Linked DNA regions of Homo sapiens: regions 1 and 2 are each linked to region 3. The links are contacts of gene promoters, found by promoter capture Hi-C in blood cells and fetal thymus (Javierre and others, 2016). All regions are on one chromosome and are shown on one strand. Each heading gives the region's core, a stretch centred on a gene start or on the middle of the fragment in contact. The rest is flanking DNA. Distances are from core to core; before and after follow the strand shown. Region 1 has its middle 4.2 kb from the start of LINC02322. Region 2 overlaps LOC101927702 (a long non-coding RNA gene). Region 3 holds the start of DAAM1 (dishevelled associated activator of morphogenesis 1).

Region 1 (2,982 bases), core at 35-2,534, 1.1 Mb before region 3:
GAGGGGTGGGGAGAGGAGGCTTTTCCCATGGAACTCTCCAACACTGCTGCAGAAAGCCAAGCACATGACATGCACCACACGACCCCTAGGTGGTGGTCCTTGCAGCCGATTTCAGAGACCATAGCCCCAAAAGTGCAGAGGGTTCCTCTGTTCCCTCTCCTTGGACAGTTCCCATTAGTCTGTCTGGCCTTACCTTTCTAAAGAAATTTGCCGCTTGAAAATCACAGTGATGTACGTTATTGAGTCCCCAGAACTCTCAATCCCCTCTGTTTTTGCCCATCCCAAGCCCAAACTGGCAAGCTCTCTTTCTGCCCGATCTTCCAGGAAGCTTCCCCAACTGCCACAGTCCTGTCCAATTTCACTGAATTTTATTATTTTCAATAGACATATTTTTTAAATGTCTCTCTAAAAGCGACTTAAGATTATTATGTAAGATTTTTATAAGATTATTAACTTTGTAAGATTTTGCCCATCTGAATCAATCTCCAAATCATAGAAAAAATGTTATTGACCTGATAATCGTGTTTCAATCCGGGGTTTGGAAAAGATGTTCACCACATGGAAATCATGGCTAAGACCCATTTCGCACAAAATGCACACTCAGGCATGGTTCAGTATCACGGTGCAGTGTGTGCGTGTCGGGTACCTCACCAGCCACACTTCGGCTTTGTAAAGGTGGGTTGGGGAGCCGAGTCCTCCCATCCTTTCACAGCCCCCGCAGGCCCTGGGTGAATGCTGGTCTAGTGAATTCACAGCTCCCGGGCAACTCCCAGCCGCGAGGCGGGGCGGCAGGGTGGAGGGAGCCACCCGCGGAGAGGCCTCGACCCCCACCCCAGCGAAGCCTAGGGCCGGGGAGCTGCACCTCGGCGCACCCCGCCTGGCGCCCTGAGCCCGCGTGGGCCCGGGCCGGGTTTGCGGGGAGGCAGCTCGGCTCCCGGAGGTCCTCCCGCAGGCGGCGCCCTCCGAGCCAGGCGCGAAGTGCACCCAGGCCCCGCAGCCCAGCGCCGCGTGGCCATCCAGAGGGATTTGTCAGCGCGCCCTATATAGCCGCAGACAGCTGCCATCTGTTATGTTTAGTAACACCACCACGCCGCTCCCCCTTCCTTGAGAATAAACCCGCCTTGGTCATTAAGCCACGAGGATATTTTTTTAACGACTCCCACTCCCTCTTGCAAGCAGTCTTAGCTCATCAGTCCGGGTCTGAGTCTTGAGCGCCCAATTCTGCTTCCTCACTGCGTCCTGGGCGCTCTCTGAGCTGGACGAGCCATCCACTGTGGGCTTGGGCCCCGGGCAGGTGCTTACAGGAAAAGGCGGAGACAGCGCCTCCCTCCATGGGTGCAGCGAGGAGAAAAATCCGTGGTGTGTGACCATTTTAATGCATCGCATTTCAGTTCTGCAAATGCAAAGTGTAAATTAGGCTAGAACATGATTGTGAATCAGACCAGACGTCATGATTAATTTATCACTGTGCTCCAGATACATCAGCTAAAATAATATGAATTTAAAGTAACGGTTCCTCCCGCCTTTGTGTTTGCTGGTGAACTCTAAAGAATAGATCACTAGAGAAATAAAGGAACTTAAGAGTCCACTCTATTCTCGTATTAGCGGAGCATGAACATAATTAAACATTCTCAATAAGGTTTCTTCCACCGTTTGAAATTAAATTTGCCCACCCACATTTTGTATCCGTCTGTGTAACACTCACTGATGCACCCTGAGCTGCTGATAAACATTGAGGCGGAGATTAGCTTTTTCATATTTCAGGTAACATTTATGATGCCTCAAGTTCTGGTTCCCAAACTGGCTGATTATCAAAATTGTCTAGGGCCTTGCCACTAAAAGTGTGGTCCATGAAGTAGCGGCACGGTATCACTTTTGAGATCGTTAGGAATGCAGAATCTCAGGCCCTACTCAGACCTGTTGATGGGAGTCTAAATTTTTTACAAGACCTGCCCTCACCACATCACCACCCCCATTAAAGTTTGAGAAGAATTGATGTAGTTTTTTAAAAACCACAAATACCTTTGCTCAGACATCTATATATGTTTAGTAAGCAGCCGAGTTGATTCTTATAAGTTGAGTTGTCAAGTTTGGAGGTCACTGGTCTTTGAGGCTCAAGGTTCAGATGACTTTTATGCTGATGACATGAACCAAATTTATTAAATCAGTGGAACTCTCTCTGAAAGTTTGGTACAGGTGAGTTTATCTGTTTAGTCATCCATGAATTACAAGAAAGCTTATTAATTATTTAGTTAAATAATGACACATTTAGTCCTCCAATTAGGAAAGCTCAACACTAGGAAGGAGGATTTTCTCCTTATGTAACTGGCTCATTCACTCCCAGACTGAGTGTAGGCATGAGGAAATCTTTTGCTTGGCCATCAAAGCCGCCCCCACCCCCTTCGAATGTTCTGACTTTCTTTATAACAGTACCTTTCATTCAGAAGAATACAAACATCCCTTGTGCTGCTGTTCAGTGATGTTGAGGGCTGTACTGGAGGACTGTGTCTAGTTCTGGACCTCACAATAAAAGAGGGATGTGGGGACCTTGGCAAAGGTTCAGAAGATATTTGTAAAGGTTATTTTTTAAATTCAGAATGAATCTTCACATTGTGTGGCATTATCTATAAAATGGACATGAAATGAACTTTGACTGTAGCTTGAGATTTTTACTTTAAGAGAAAAGCAATTGTAGAAATAAGTGGAGGAAGAAGAAAGAATGTCTCTTGAGCACAAGTTCTCACCTTGTGCATTAGTTACAATGACCTGGAGAAATTTTTTAAAACCCCAATGCCAGTTAAGTTGGGGGAGTCTTTGTGGTTGGGACCTGAGCATCAATAGTTTTTCAAGTACTCCAGGTGATTCCAATGCACAGCTCCTGAGCAGTGCTGCTGCAACTTTAATGTCATTGGCACCACCTGGGAAGTTTGTTAAAATGCAGATTGTGGCCGGTGCAGTGGCTCACACCTGTAATCCAAGCAT
Region 2 (3,018 bases), core at 213-2,712, 1.1 Mb before region 3:
ATAAAAACATTCAATTTAGCAATGAAGTCACATCATTGACTAATAAGCTCTAACATACATTTTTGTTGTTTTATTTTTATCTTAAATGAAAATATTAACCAATAGCCATGTTGGAACTACATTTGGAAAGGTGGTTGTTAAACATTTCCCAGCACACACCTGGATCTGCATCTGCTGTGTCAATTGAACCACTCACTGGTTCTGTGACCTCAGGCAAGTCATTTAAATTATAAGCCTTGGTTTTATCCTCCACAGAATACTTCCTCCTAAAATGTGTTGTGAAAATTAGAATAGATGAAGGCACCCTTGAAAAGATGACTGATGCGGTTGGTTGCCCCACCACTTCCTACTACTTGGCAGAGCCTCCTCGTTGGCAGATCCTTCTCTCACTAGAGCATGTATATGGATGCATGCTCTCTCACCCTCCCTTGTAGCTTAGAGCAGAGCATACCAATCTATGTGCCAGCATACCCTGGTATGTCTCAGATGGGTCATAGATGTGATAAGGTATGGATCCCTTAAGCCCTTGGGACATTCAAGTGAGGCTGAGCTGCTGAAGCCCTGGGATGGTATGACTGGCCACAAGCAACATTACCCAGGTACCCCTCTGTGTCACAAAAACGTTATCTTTGTATTTGTGTCATGGTGTGAAAAAATTGAGAAGCACTGCCTGGGGACATAGTGAGGTAGCCCAATTCTGGATAAAGGAAATTGAGAAGTCTTGAGGGGGTAGAGAGGTTTTCTTCCCTAATAAGAAGAATCACAGGAGAGAAAATGCCTTCCTCAGCCATATGTTGTTATTTCTATATGTGAGCCTGGAATTTCAAGGTTATCTTGCAAAGAACCAAGGCAATGTAGAGAAAAGAATTGATAGCAAGTGGCTGGATCTTTCACATTGTAAAGCCATTGAGCCATCCGTGCAATTGCCCACCTTGGGAATTTATTTTTAAGAGTGATAATAAATGCTCCTCATTGTTTAAACTACTTTGATTTTTGTATTTGGTTATTCATAATTAAAAACACCCAAATACAGTAGAAGAACTGGTACATCCCTGACACCTAATGAGTGCTCAATATGGTTAGTTAATCACCAAATTAGATCCTTTGCCTTTAGAAAAGCTGCCATGGTCAAATGTGTGTTGATCTTATTTTTCGTAAATATTTAAGAAATTTGTTCAGTAACTAGCTTAACTTTTAATATTTATCTTGAGTCTCTTCTAAATATGTTTTTACTGTATAATAAAAGCAATAATTGAAAAATGACATCATTTTAAGCTTGAGAGCAACTAGATACAAAGATGTTGATATGCATTTTCTCTTCTTGAAGGATCTAGACAAACTGGAGCACCATTACATGAAAAAGGTTAAAGAATCAATGTTTTGCAAAATAGAACTGGAATTAATTCATGGGAATTACAGAGAAGATCATATTAGTTCAATATAAAAAGAGGGCCTAGAATGTGCCAAGCTCCATACAATGCCCCTCATGAGTGTTATTTAATTCTCACAACAACTTTGCAAAAAAGAAACTATTTTTTTTTCCATTTTACAAAGGAGGAAGCTAAGGCTGTGAAAAAGAGCTCTTTTGCAAGCCTAGGACCTGATTCCAAAATTCCCACTCTTTCTGTTGCAAATTCTGGCTAAGCTTTCCAGAGATGACTTGCTTTCCCCTTGAGGCCCTTTCAGTGCATTGTGCCATGGAAAACAAAAAGCCCAACAATGACATCTTTACCAAAGATGCCTTGGGGAGATGGGAGAAGAGTTACAATGCACATTACACAGCAAAATCTTTTTTAAGCTCCAAGTAAAATTGGTTTTTTCTTAGAGTTTTGCTTCCAGCAGTCACTTCCTCCATTCTCCTGCTCTCTCCACGTGAGGAAAACTTCTATCCTGCCTTCTCCTAATACACTTTCCTGTTTTTTTTTTCCTGCACATTTCTTAAAAATCCCACATAAGGCAAAAGCCAAGACAATATCCATCAACACCTCCACCCCCACCGCATGTCCATGGAGAGCTTCAAGTCATCCTGCCGCTGGTACAAACACGGCAGAGGCCTCTTTGTAAAGAAGTGGTAGGTAGAATTCAGGTTAGCACCAGAATCTGAAAACTCCAGCTCCTTTGACTGGGACCAGGCTGGTAATATAAATGTTAGATCAGGCTGGGTCTGACACAATGGGGATCAGTAGAGCATACTTGTCACATTTGAAGGCATTCAGAAAAATAATAACCTTAAAACATTCTAAACATGTTGCAATCAAAGAGGATACCCCTTGACCACTGCACGAATTGGAGTTCAAAGATCATCTCTCTTTTGCCTAGGCTGTAGACTAGTTATTTAACCTCTCTCAGACTTGGTTTCCTCTTCTGGAACAGGGTATATCAACTACCTTGCAGAAATAAATGACATCCTGTACACAATGCACCTACCACGTTGCCTGACCCAATAATGTGTACATACATAAGAAAATGTTCATGCCCTTTGCTCACTTTAAAATTTTTTTTTCTTGTATATTTGTTTAAGTTCTTCGTAGACTCTGGAATGGAGCTGGAAGCTGTCATCCTCAGCACACTAACGCAGGAACAGAAAACCAAGCACTGCATGTTCCCACTTATAAGTGAGAGCTGAACGAGCAGAACACATGGACATATGAAGGGGAACAACACACTCTGGGGCCTGTGAGGTGCAGGGAGAGCATCAAGAAGAACAGCTAATGGGTGCTGGGCTTAATACCTGGGTGATGGGTTGATCTGTGCGGCAAACCACCATGGCACACATTTACCTATGTAACAAACCTTGACATCCTGCACATGTACCCCGGAACTTAAAAATAAAAGTTGACAAAAAGAAAACATAACTTACTTTTAAGCACATAGTGTGTGTGTGTGTATATATATATGTATATATGTATATATAAGTATATATGTATATATGTATATATAAGTATATATGTATATATGTATATGTGTATATACATGTATATATATGTATACATATATGTGTGTATATATATATATATA
Region 3 (3,029 bases), core at 411-2,910:
ATTTTCAGAGTTTGCCTCAGGAAAAAGGCGCCAAACAATTAGTTTCAGGGAGAGAGGTGGCGTGATGAGGTGTGGCACGGGGAAGGGAAAGGGGTTTAGAACTGTGTCCAAGCTATTTAGGAGAGAAAGGGGAGAGTCCCGGGGCTGTGAAAGGGGCGAGGAGGAGAGAGCAGCTGGGCCAGGGCGAGCGTTTGACCACACCCACTAGCCACTCCCTCCCAGCTGCCCGCAGAGCCACATCGAATCGAAACAGCAGTGGCAGCGGCTAAGATTCCGAAGGCAGGAGTCGCCATGGCAACGGGATTCATCTTGCAGGCAACTCCGCTTCGATTCACTGGGTCCTGCTCGAATCTCAAGAAACTACCAGCAAAACGGTCACGGTGGCATTTGCTCTTGATGCTCTCCAGAAAGTGGAGATGAAGGAGAGGGGAATGGAGTTCAGGCATCACTAAATATGTTATGGGGCGAGAGGTAGCTCCGCAAAGCCAGGCCGTGAACAACTTGAGACCTTAGCAGGGTTTGATGAATGAGTAAACGAACAAATGAAGGTACTAGGAAAGGCAAAGAACATCCAGAGGACTGAGAGCTCTGGGCCTCCTGCACGTCTCCACTCAGAGGGCAAGCCGATCACAAGCAGTTGGCTTTCAGAACCAGCTGGGTAAACCCGATTATCCAGCCCTCCTGCCCCACAGCGAGCCTAATCATTAGATTATCCGACACCTCCACCCCCGCGCTACCACCTCCTGGCCCAGGGCTTCAGGGCAGGCGCTTCGCCCCAGCCCAGGTGCTCTACACCAAGGGACCGTGGAGACTGAGATGCGCCCTCCCGAGAGGGACGGGCGGCAAAAGCCCTCTGCGGTGCCTCACAACCGGGTCCGCAGGCGGCGCAGCCTCCCCGGCCGCCAACACCCTGCTCTCCCTCCGCAACGCCCGATTTCCCTTCTCTCTGTTTTGAAACATTTAGGTCCAACTTAGTCTGAATTACAGGCGCTCCGTCCCTTTCGAATGGGGCTGGAAGTGAGGGTGCCAGGGGCACTGGGGGCTCTGCTCGGACGCGAACGGGTACACGAGTCCCTCCTTCCCTGTCGCCACCGCCGTGTCCACCAAGCCTGCCTCGGGGTTCTCCCTCTCGGAGCCGCCGGGCCGGGAGCTCGCGGACGCCGCTGCAGTACCCGCGGCCCCAGCCCCGGGGAGCCTTCAGCAAGGCGGCGAGTGTTACCCCGCCAGCTCCTCGGCCAGCCGGGCGCCTTAGAAAGAAAGGGAGGGACCCCAGTCCTTGGGGGCGTCTTCCTCCCTGCTGCCTCGGTTTGCGTTGCGCTGCAGCCATTTTCCCACCCCCAGCTAGGCAGCCGAGAGCTGTCTCGGTCCCGTTCCCACCCAGACCCAACCTGAAGGACGGGTTTAATATTTACCTACTGGCCCGGGAGCTCCGGGGAGGCAGCAGGAGGGCGCGCCGCGAACCCAGCGCCCAGCCCACGGAAGCACGCCCACCCCCGCACCACTGAGCAGTGCCACTTAATGAATGAGTGCGGCGGGCAAGGAGGAGCGTCCCCCTTACCTGAGCAGCCCCTGCATGCTGGAAAGGCGGCTCTGCACTCTGGGTACAATGGGATCCGGTTAAACAGTTTCCTTCACAGCCGCTCGTAGGTTACTAACTCGCAGGTGACATCACCCTCTCCTCGCCTGATAGGATACAAAGTGGCTCCCACTGCGCATGGACGCTCCGGTCGGGCGCGCAGACTCCTGGGAGTAGTGGTCCCAATCTATTAGCGGAGCCGGGACAGCTTTGCTGTCGGGACTCGCGGAACTACATCTCCCGACACACTCCTCCGCCCTTCTGCCCCGCCTCTTATTCCCGCCCCCTTCAGGACCCGCCCCCTCCCAGCCTTACAGCCTTGCAGTGTTAGCGGTGGTCGTTCCGAAGCCGAGCTGCGGACCGCACGGGAGAGTGGGAGGGCTGCCCTGCGGTCGTGTGTGTTGACTTGACCTCTACTTTGCCCGGCGCGGGCTCTGAAGGATCGGAGAGGTCCGGGGCTCGCGTGGTCCGGCCAGGCTCGCTCTAACTGGTCTTTCTTGGTCCCTGCTGGGAAGGGACGATTAAGACTTTTCTGCCTTCCCCAGGCGTAGCAGCTAATTCAGAGGGCTTACTGTTTTCTGGGTTAAATACGGTCCTCGAATTCTCCCCGCTCAACACTTCCAGAGGATGGGGCGACGCCGGTCCCAAGGCGGAGGAATCTCCTTGTACCCCCTCAATTCACCTTTCTCTTTTCTGCTTCCCGTTTAACGGAGACAAGGTGACCAGGCAGAACGCGGGGAACCACTTAGTCGGCTGAGCTGACAGAATAACGGAGGTTGTCACTACCAGAAGTGCGGTGTGATAGACTAGACAGTCGCCGCAACCCTCCGTCAGGGCGCCTGCTGCTGCTGCAAAGATAATACTATCGTGCAGCCATGCTTTTGTTCATCCCTGCAGCAGACTTCCCGCGCTGGTGGCTCTCCACTCCCAGGAAGAAAACGTCCTTGTCTAAAGTTTTAATAATTGTGTATCTATGTATACACATGTTTTTAAATCCACAACACTCTCACCTCATTTTCCATACCTTTTCAAATATTTTTATAAAGACATTAAACCAAACAACATCGTGCCGTTCAAGAATTGCCCTGCTCTTAACACACCTAAATATTTATTTAAAGGTAAGCAAAAGGTGTGTAGCAGAATTCTGACCCTTTAGGCAGGTTGTATTGTTAATACATAATTTTTTCCGTGGCATTTTTCATTATTCAGTGAATACCAAGTGTCTTTTAATATGAAAAGAATCAATGCATTTAGTTACTCGAGTTGTAAATGTAAATTTTAATGGCATTTGATGTGTCTCAATTCCATATAATGATCAGCTCACACACCCGTTCCACTAGCAAAATCTCTAGAAGACTGTGCATCTTGTGAAAAAAAGGTTCACAATTAAGATTTCAGACAACTCCCTACTGAAGTGTTGGTGGAACTCTTATCATTTATTTTCTCCTTTCAT

The links. The method cuts DNA at HindIII sites, captures the fragments that hold promoters and counts their contacts. A CHiCAGO score of 5 or more calls a contact.
Region 1: a fragment that was not itself captured here is called in contact with the fragment with the promoter of DAAM1 in region 3 in 1 of 17 cell types (naive CD8 T cells); the score reaches 7.8 in naive CD8 T cells.
Region 2: a contact is called between a fragment that was not itself captured here and the fragment with the promoter of DAAM1 in region 3, in 1 of 17 cell types (naive CD8 T cells). The highest score is 5.0, in naive CD8 T cells.

Annotation. Positions count from the first base shown.
Region 1 is chr14:60,325,927-60,328,908 of GRCh38, reverse strand. No RefSeq gene overlaps it. Among named protein-coding and RNA genes, the nearest start is that of LINC02322, 4.2 kb to the right of the region's middle. RefSeq lists a silencer at 681-990 and an enhancer at 1,101-1,160. The HindIII fragment of the contact is 1,908 bases long and covers 331-2,238 here.
Region 2 is chr14:60,239,958-60,242,975 of GRCh38, reverse strand. LOC101927702 (a long non-coding RNA gene) reads left to right here. Exons shown (of 3, transcript NR_188027.1): 2 at 106-213; 3 at 2,522-2,850. Among named protein-coding and RNA genes, the nearest start is that of PPM1A, 7.8 kb to the left of the region's middle. The HindIII fragment of the contact is 370 bases long and covers 1,278-1,647 here.
Region 3 is chr14:59,187,298-59,190,326 of GRCh38, reverse strand. It overlaps DAAM1 (dishevelled associated activator of morphogenesis 1), which reads right to left and starts at 1,660. Exons shown (of 25, transcript NM_001270520.2): 1 at 1,559-1,660. RefSeq lists enhancers at 28-77, 508-667, 378-1,137, 1,918-2,157 and silencers at 1,028-1,247, 1,308-1,447. The HindIII fragment of the contact is 5,514 bases long and covers 1-3,029 here.